2 separate regions of the Homo sapiens genome follow, and region 1 is linked to region 2. The links are contacts of gene promoters, found by promoter capture Hi-C in human tissues and cell types (Jung and others, 2019). All regions are on one chromosome and are shown on one strand. Each heading gives the region's core, a stretch centred on a gene start or on the middle of the fragment in contact. The rest is flanking DNA. Distances are from core to core; before and after follow the strand shown. Region 1 overlaps LOC124901705 (a long non-coding RNA gene). Region 2 holds the start of BAIAP2L1 (BAR/IMD domain containing adaptor protein 2 like 1).

Region 1 (3,498 bases), core at 838-3,337, 130 kb after region 2:
TCGGGGGCGTTGGGAGGCCCGGGAGGAACTGGACAGAGCCAGGTCTCACCGGGGACAGAATGCGGCCTCACAATCCTGCCCCACCGCCAAGATTCTCAGGTTCTGAGCCTGGAGTCCGACTGCTAGCCAGCGACTCATGGCGCCCACAGCCAGGTACCACCCCTCAGAGCCAGGATGGTTTGGGGAGAAGCTGGATTAATACCAATGCCAAGGGAATCCTTGATAAAAACCCTGACTTATGAGAATTGGCAACGGAGAACCAGCCACATGAACACAATGTGACAAGACAATGCCCAAGTTGCCAAGTGACAAATGCCCAAGCCAGCAGCCCAGTTTCAGGCTTTCCCTGAGGCCCTAGAAAGTGTCTTCAGGGGCCAGGCGTGGTGGCTCACGCCTGTAATCCCAGCACTTTAGGAGGCTGAGGCCAGCGGATCACCTGAGGTCAGGAATTCGAGACCATCCTGGCCAACATGGTGAAACCCTGTCTCTACTTAAAATACAAATAATTAGCTGGGCGTGATGGTATGCACCTGTAATCCCAGCTACTAGGGAGGCTGAGACAGGAGAATCACTTGAACCCGGGAGGCAGAGGTTGCAGTGAGCCGAGATCGCGCCATTGCACTCCAGACTGGGGGATAAGAGCGAGGCTTCATCTCAAAAAAAAAAAAAAAAAAAAAAAGAAAGTGTCTTTAGGGTCAGTTGAGGTGAGCAGAAAGCCTGATCCGTGAGTAGGCAGGAATGACCCCTCAGTTGCATGAACCAAGCCCCCCTCAGAGACCCCCACCTCAGGCTGGGCTCATGCCTGTAATGCCCATGCCTGGTGGCTCATGCCTATAATCTCAGCACTTTGGGAGGCTGAGGCGGGAGGATGGCTTGAGCCCAGGAGTTTGAGACCAGCCTGGGCAACACAGTGAAACCCCATCTCTACAAAAAATAAAAATTTAAAAAAAAAAAAGATCATCATTCATTCATTCTTTTTAGTGGATCATTTTCCTTACTTTCCTGGGACAATTCCTTTTTGCATTTATAATATAGCATTAGAAAAAGGGATATGGGCCGGGAACGGTGGCTCATGCCTGTAACCCCAGCACTTTGGGAGCCAAGGCAGATGGATCACCTGAGGTCAGGAGTTCGAGACCAGCCTGGCCAACATGGTGAAACCCCATGTCTACTAAAAATACAAAAACTAACCAGGTGTGGTGGTGCGCACCTGTAGTCCCAACTACTCAGGAGGCTGAGGTGGAAGGATCGCTTGAGGCCACAAGGTCAAGACACGCCTCCCAAAGTGCTGGGATTACAGGTGTGAGCCACCATGCCTGGCCCCTCTTTAGTTTTTGAGAAACCCTTTTCCATGGAAACATACAATGCTCCTGTATTCCTGTATCCAGGAACTACGACTTGTAGTCTGTCGTGTGTGTGTGTGTGTGTGTGTGTGTGTGTGTGTGTGTGTGTGTGTGTACAGCCTTATTGAGGTGTAATAATGGTGTCTTGCTTTTTTTTTTTTTAAGAGACAGGGTCTTGCTGTGTTGCCCAGGCTGGTCTCAAACTCCTAAGCTCAAGTGATCCTCCTGCCTTGGCCTGCCAAAGTGGTGGGATTCAGGTGTGAGCCACTGCTCCTAGCCCTTGTGTCTTGCTTTTAAAGCCTACACAGCCTTCTTATCCATCTCATGACCTAGACTAGTCCCAGCCCCTGTCACCTGCAAGCTTCCCATCTCTGCGTACCCCTTCCACCATCAGAGTAATCTTCCTTGAGTGACTGTGCTCAGCTGAGCCACCAGCTCTCCCTGCTTAAAAACCTTCAGTGGCTCTCAGCAGCCCATGGTGTGAGATCCTGGCCCTTCAGCGTGCCATTCAGGACCACCCTGCCCTGCATCCGTTGACCCTGAGTGCCCAACAGAAGCACCTTCCACATAAGCTGGTCTTTTTTTTTTTTTTTTTAGAAGGAGTTTCGCTCTTGCTGCCCAGGCTGGAGTGCAGTGGCACAATCTCACATCACCACAACCTCCGCCTCCGGGGTTCAAGCAATTCTCCTGCCTCAGCCTCCCGAGTAGCTGGGATTACAGGTATGTGCCACCATTCCCAGCTAATTTTGCATTTTTTACTATGGACGGGGTTTCTCCATGTTGGTCAGGCCAGTCTCGAACTCCCAACCTCAGGTGAGGAGGTCAGGTGATCCACCCACCTCGGCCTCCCAAAGTGCTGGGATTATACGTGTGTGCCAGCGTGCCCACCAGTTCTTTTTCTTTTTGAGACAGAGTCTTGCTCTGTCGCCCAGGCTGGAATGCAGCGGTGTGATCTCAGCTCACTGCAACCTCTGCCTCCCGGGTTCAAGCAATTCTCTTGACTCAGCCTCCCGAGTGGCTGGGATTACAGGCATGTGCCACCATGCCAGGCTAATTTTTGTATTTTTAGTAGAGATGTGGTTTTACCCTGTTGGCCAGGCTGCTCTCGAACTCCTGATCTCAGGTTATCAGCCCACCTTGGCCTCCCAAAGTGTTGGGATTACAGGCGTGAGCCAGTGCACCTGGCCTCCTTTATGTTTGTCTTAATTTGACTTCCTTGAGATCAGTAGGCATATTTATCTATGGCTCCCTCTCCATACCAAAATCAAATTATCTTTCTCCCAGTCATTTCACTGCGGCTGACAGACCCTTGGGTGGCTCCCAGCCTCTCTGCCTCCTATGTAACCCCCTTTCCTTGAATTGAACTCTATCTTCCTTCTAGCTAATAGAATATGGAAAAGATGAAAGGGTTTGGCAGATGTACTTAACTGAATTGAGTTGCTTTTGAGTTCATCAAAAGGGAGAATATCTTGGGTGAGCTTGGTTTAATTAATAGAAGCCCTTGGAAGAGGGATTTGGCCCTTTTGGAGGCTAGAGCCTCTGTCCTGCTGGCCTTGCAGAAGCAAGCAACTATGTTGTGATCAGCCCCTGGAGAGGGTCATGTGGCAGGAAATGGTAGGTGGCTCCAGGACCTGAGGGAAGACAGCAGTCAGCAAGACACAGGGTGCCTTCCATCATCGGTTGCAAGGAAATGAATTCTGCCAAGTTGGACGAGCTTGACAGCAGATTATTCCCCACTCGCACCTCCAGATGAGAATGCAGCCTCTCCCTCCAACACCTTGAATGTAACCCCAAGAGACCCTGAGCAGAAGACACAGCCAAGCAGTGCCCAGACTTCGCCAATGGAAACTGTGGAAGAATAAATGTGTGCTGTTGGGAGCTGATAAATTTGTGACCATTTGTTGTGCAGTGTCTTAGTTTCTTTGGGATGTTATAACAAAATATCTTAGACTGGGTAATTTATAAATGACAGAAATTTATTTCTCATGGTTCTAGAGACTGGGGAGTCCAATATAAAGTCCCCAGCAGATTCAGTGCTTGGTCAGGGCTCACTCTTGCTTCATAGTTGCCCACTTGCTGTGCCACCATGTGGCAGATGGAGTGAACAGCTGCCTCAAACCTTTTTTTTTAAAGTTATTATTATTATTATTATTTT
Region 2 (3,171 bases), core at 456-2,955:
AGGTTTAAGCAATTCTCCTGCCTCAGCCTCCCGAGTAGCTGAGATTACAGGTGCACGTGCTACCATGCCTGGCTAATTTTTGTATTTTTAGTAGAGACGGGGGCAGGGCGGTTTCACCATGTTGGCTAGGCTGGTCTCGAACTCCTGACCTCAAGTGATCCGCCTGCCTTGGCCTCCCAAAGTGCTAGGATTACAGGCATGAGCCACCAAGCCCAGAGGTTTTAAAAAATCAGAATAAGACCTCTGCCCTTGTTGGGTGCGGGTCTCAGGTAGCTAAATGGTGGTTCTTACTGGGGAGAAGGCTGTCACCCAGCCCAAGGTACATAATCCTGGAAGAGAGGCCCAAAGAAGGCAGCTGCCTCACCCTTGGGCAGGGCTGAGGCCGGGATGGAGACAAAATAGGGAGCCCAGGAGCCACACACCTCCACAGAGTTTGAGTGATGACAAGAAGAGAGGCTTCCCTAACACTTCAGCTCAGGTGGTTTTCTAAACCCTACAACAATCTCGTGAGTAGCATGGTTACACTGCATTGAGTTAAAGGTCGTTGTTAATGTAAAGTTTAAAAATGTACTACTGGGCCGGGCGCGGTGGTTCAAGCCTGTAATCCCAGCACTTTGGGAGGCTGAGCAGGGCGGATCACCTGAGGTTAGGAGCTCGGGACCAACCTGGCCAACATGGTGAAACCCCGTCTCTACTAAAAATACAAAAAAATTAGCCTGGCTTGGTGGCACGTGCACCTGTAATCTCAGCTACTCGAGAGGCTGAGGCAGGAGAATTGCTTAAACCTGGGGGGCAGAGATTGCAGCAAGCTGAGAGAGCACCACTGCACTCCAGCCTGAGGGGACAAGAGTGAAACTCTGTCTCAAAAACAAACAAAAAGCTTCTATCTGGGGGCCAGGCAGGATGGCTCATGCCAGGCAGGAGAATCGCTTGAACCTGGGAAGCGGAGGTTGCAGCAAGCTGAGATCGCACCACTGCACTCCAGCCTAGGCGACAGAGTGAGACTCCATCTCAAAAAAAAAAAAGTACTAACATTTCGGTAACTAGACCCTGGCATTTATTAATTTTTTGATATATCAGGAGCTTTCAAAACTGCAAGTGGCAGCCCGTTTTCTCCACCTAGGAGGGCCGATGCCCCCACGGGTCCCTCTAACTTTTGGGGTCAGTGAGCGGCGGGGCAAGAAGAGATCAATCAGGGAAATCAATACAACTGGGGAATGTGGCCCCTTCCCTTGGTCCCCAAAACGCAGGGCTTGAAGGAAGCCCTCATGGAGGAAGTGGGCCTCGGGGTCCCCGGGGCCAGCACCACGCGAGGCAAACAAGGGCTCCAGGACCACAGTCTAAACACCCCCAGGCTGCCCTTGCCCTAGCAAAACAGCAAAGCGAGCAGCCCACTCCACACCGGTCCCCACTCCAGGGTCTCGGGCCCTACGTCGCCGGAGCTCTGGGAGAGCCGCGAGGGGGCGCACCGTGGCCTCGCTGCCCTGTCCGCCACAGGTGGGGTGACCCCGCCCACTCGGGGGGCCCGCTTCCCTCTGGCCACGCCCATTCCAGCTGCCTGGCCCCGCCTCCTCCCCGCCCACCCCGGCCGGGCCCCGCTCACCAGGCCGCCTCAGGTGGGTACGCCACGCCCCTCCGGCCCTGCGGCCCCGCCCCCGTCTGCCCCGCCCGCCTCAGGTGGGGCCGCCCGGCCCGCCCAGCTTCCTCTGGCGGCGTCCGGCCGCTTCTCCTCTGCTCCTCGAAGAAGGCCAGGGCGGCGCTGCCGCAAGTTTTGACATTTTCGCAGCGGAGACGCGCGCGGGCACTCTCGGGCCGACGGCTGCGGCGGCGGCCGACCCTCCAGAGCCCCTTAGTCGCGCCCCGGCCCTCCCGCTGCCCGGAGTCCGGCGGCCACGAGGCCCAGCCGCGTCCTCCCGCGCTTGCTCGCCCGGCGGCCGCAGCCATGTCCCGGGGGCCCGAGGAGGTGAACCGGCTCACGGAGAGCACCTACCGGGTAAGCCCAGGGCCCGGGGCTCAGGGAGGTCAGGGCTTTCCACCTCGGGGTTCAGAAGGGGACTTTACGCGGGAAGGTACTTTCCCTCCCTCCAGCTCCCCTCCCCCGCGTCCTTCCACCTCTCCCGGTCTCTCCCACTCCTCCCCTGGCCCTCCACAGCCCCTCTTCTTCCTCCCCTGGCCCTCTCCTTCCTCCCAGTCCCTCCCCATCCCCTCCCCCCTACTTTTCCTCCTCCTTCCCTCCCCTCCTCCCTGTGCTTCTTCCCTGTCTCTCTTTCCCGCCCCGCTGTACCTCTCCCTCTGCCCCTCCGCTCCCCGTTCACTCTCCCTCCTCCCCTGCCCCTCGACACTGTCCCTCCCCTCCTCCTGGTTCTTCCTTCTCCCCCGTGTGTCTCCCCCTCCTCCCCTGTCCCTTCTTCTCCCCAGTCTATCCCCCTCCCTCCCCCTCCCCCTCCCCCTCCTCTTGGTTCTTCCTCCTTCCCCGTGTGTCTCCCCCTCCTCTCCTGGCCCTTCTCCGCCTCCCCTGTCCCTTCTCCTCCCCGTCCCTTCTCCTCTTCCCTGACCCTCAGAGCTCTGGAGACCACCCCCCATCCCCTGACCAGCTACACATTTTACAACTAGTGCACTTAAGTTGGGGAGGGGTCTGTTGTGCGTCGGTGGGGCCCACGTCCTCCTCCCAACTTCTTGGAATCAGTGACCCGTGCTGTCCTGGCTGCCGGGCTTAAGCCCTCCGGGACCAAAGACACAAGCTCGAGTTTCCTCTAAGAAAAGAAAGCGCCCAAGAATGTGGGGGTGAAACTCCCCTGTAATTAGGATCGCCAGGTGAGCCGAGCTCTGGGCGTTCTCCCGGGAAACGCCCTCCTCCTTAGACCCTTCCTCTCCCACCTTTCAGTTGAACTTGGCTTTTATATATGGGTTATTTGGTGAGGTTCTTGAAGTCAAAGAACAACCGAGGTTTTAATGAAATTGACCTAACCTTAAGGAATGCGTTGATAGCCGGTCTCTTAACTTGCATGTATTAGGAGAGAATTTTTCCAGACACAGACAGAGACTTAGGATTAGTGGCCTGTTTAGTTTACATACTTACAAATGAATTCCAGGTGAAATAAGATATCTGTTAATCATCTGCTATTAATAGAACACAAAACAACTTTTGTTTTAATTCAGCCTAGGCGCTTC

What was found. The method cuts DNA at HindIII sites, captures the fragments that hold promoters and counts their contacts. A contact is called where the count stands out against the background at its distance.
Region 1: a fragment that was not itself captured here is called in contact with the fragment with the promoter of BAIAP2L1 in region 2 in 1 of the 25 tissues and cell types used here (liver).

Annotation. Positions count from the first base shown.
Region 1 is chr7:98,266,956-98,270,453 of GRCh38, reverse strand. LOC124901705 (a long non-coding RNA gene) reads left to right here. Exons shown (of 3, transcript XR_007060446.1): 2 at 1,941-2,063; 3 at 3,093-3,226. Among named protein-coding and RNA genes, the nearest start is that of BRI3, 13 kb to the left of the region's middle. The HindIII fragment of the contact is 6,745 bases long and covers 1-3,498 here.
Region 2 is chr7:98,399,624-98,402,794 of GRCh38, reverse strand. It overlaps BAIAP2L1 (BAR/IMD domain containing adaptor protein 2 like 1), which reads left to right and starts at 1,705. Exons shown (of 14, transcript NM_018842.5): 1 at 1,705-1,993. The coding sequence starts at 1,943. RefSeq lists a silencer at 1,372-2,031. The HindIII fragment of the contact is 4,393 bases long and covers 393-3,171 here.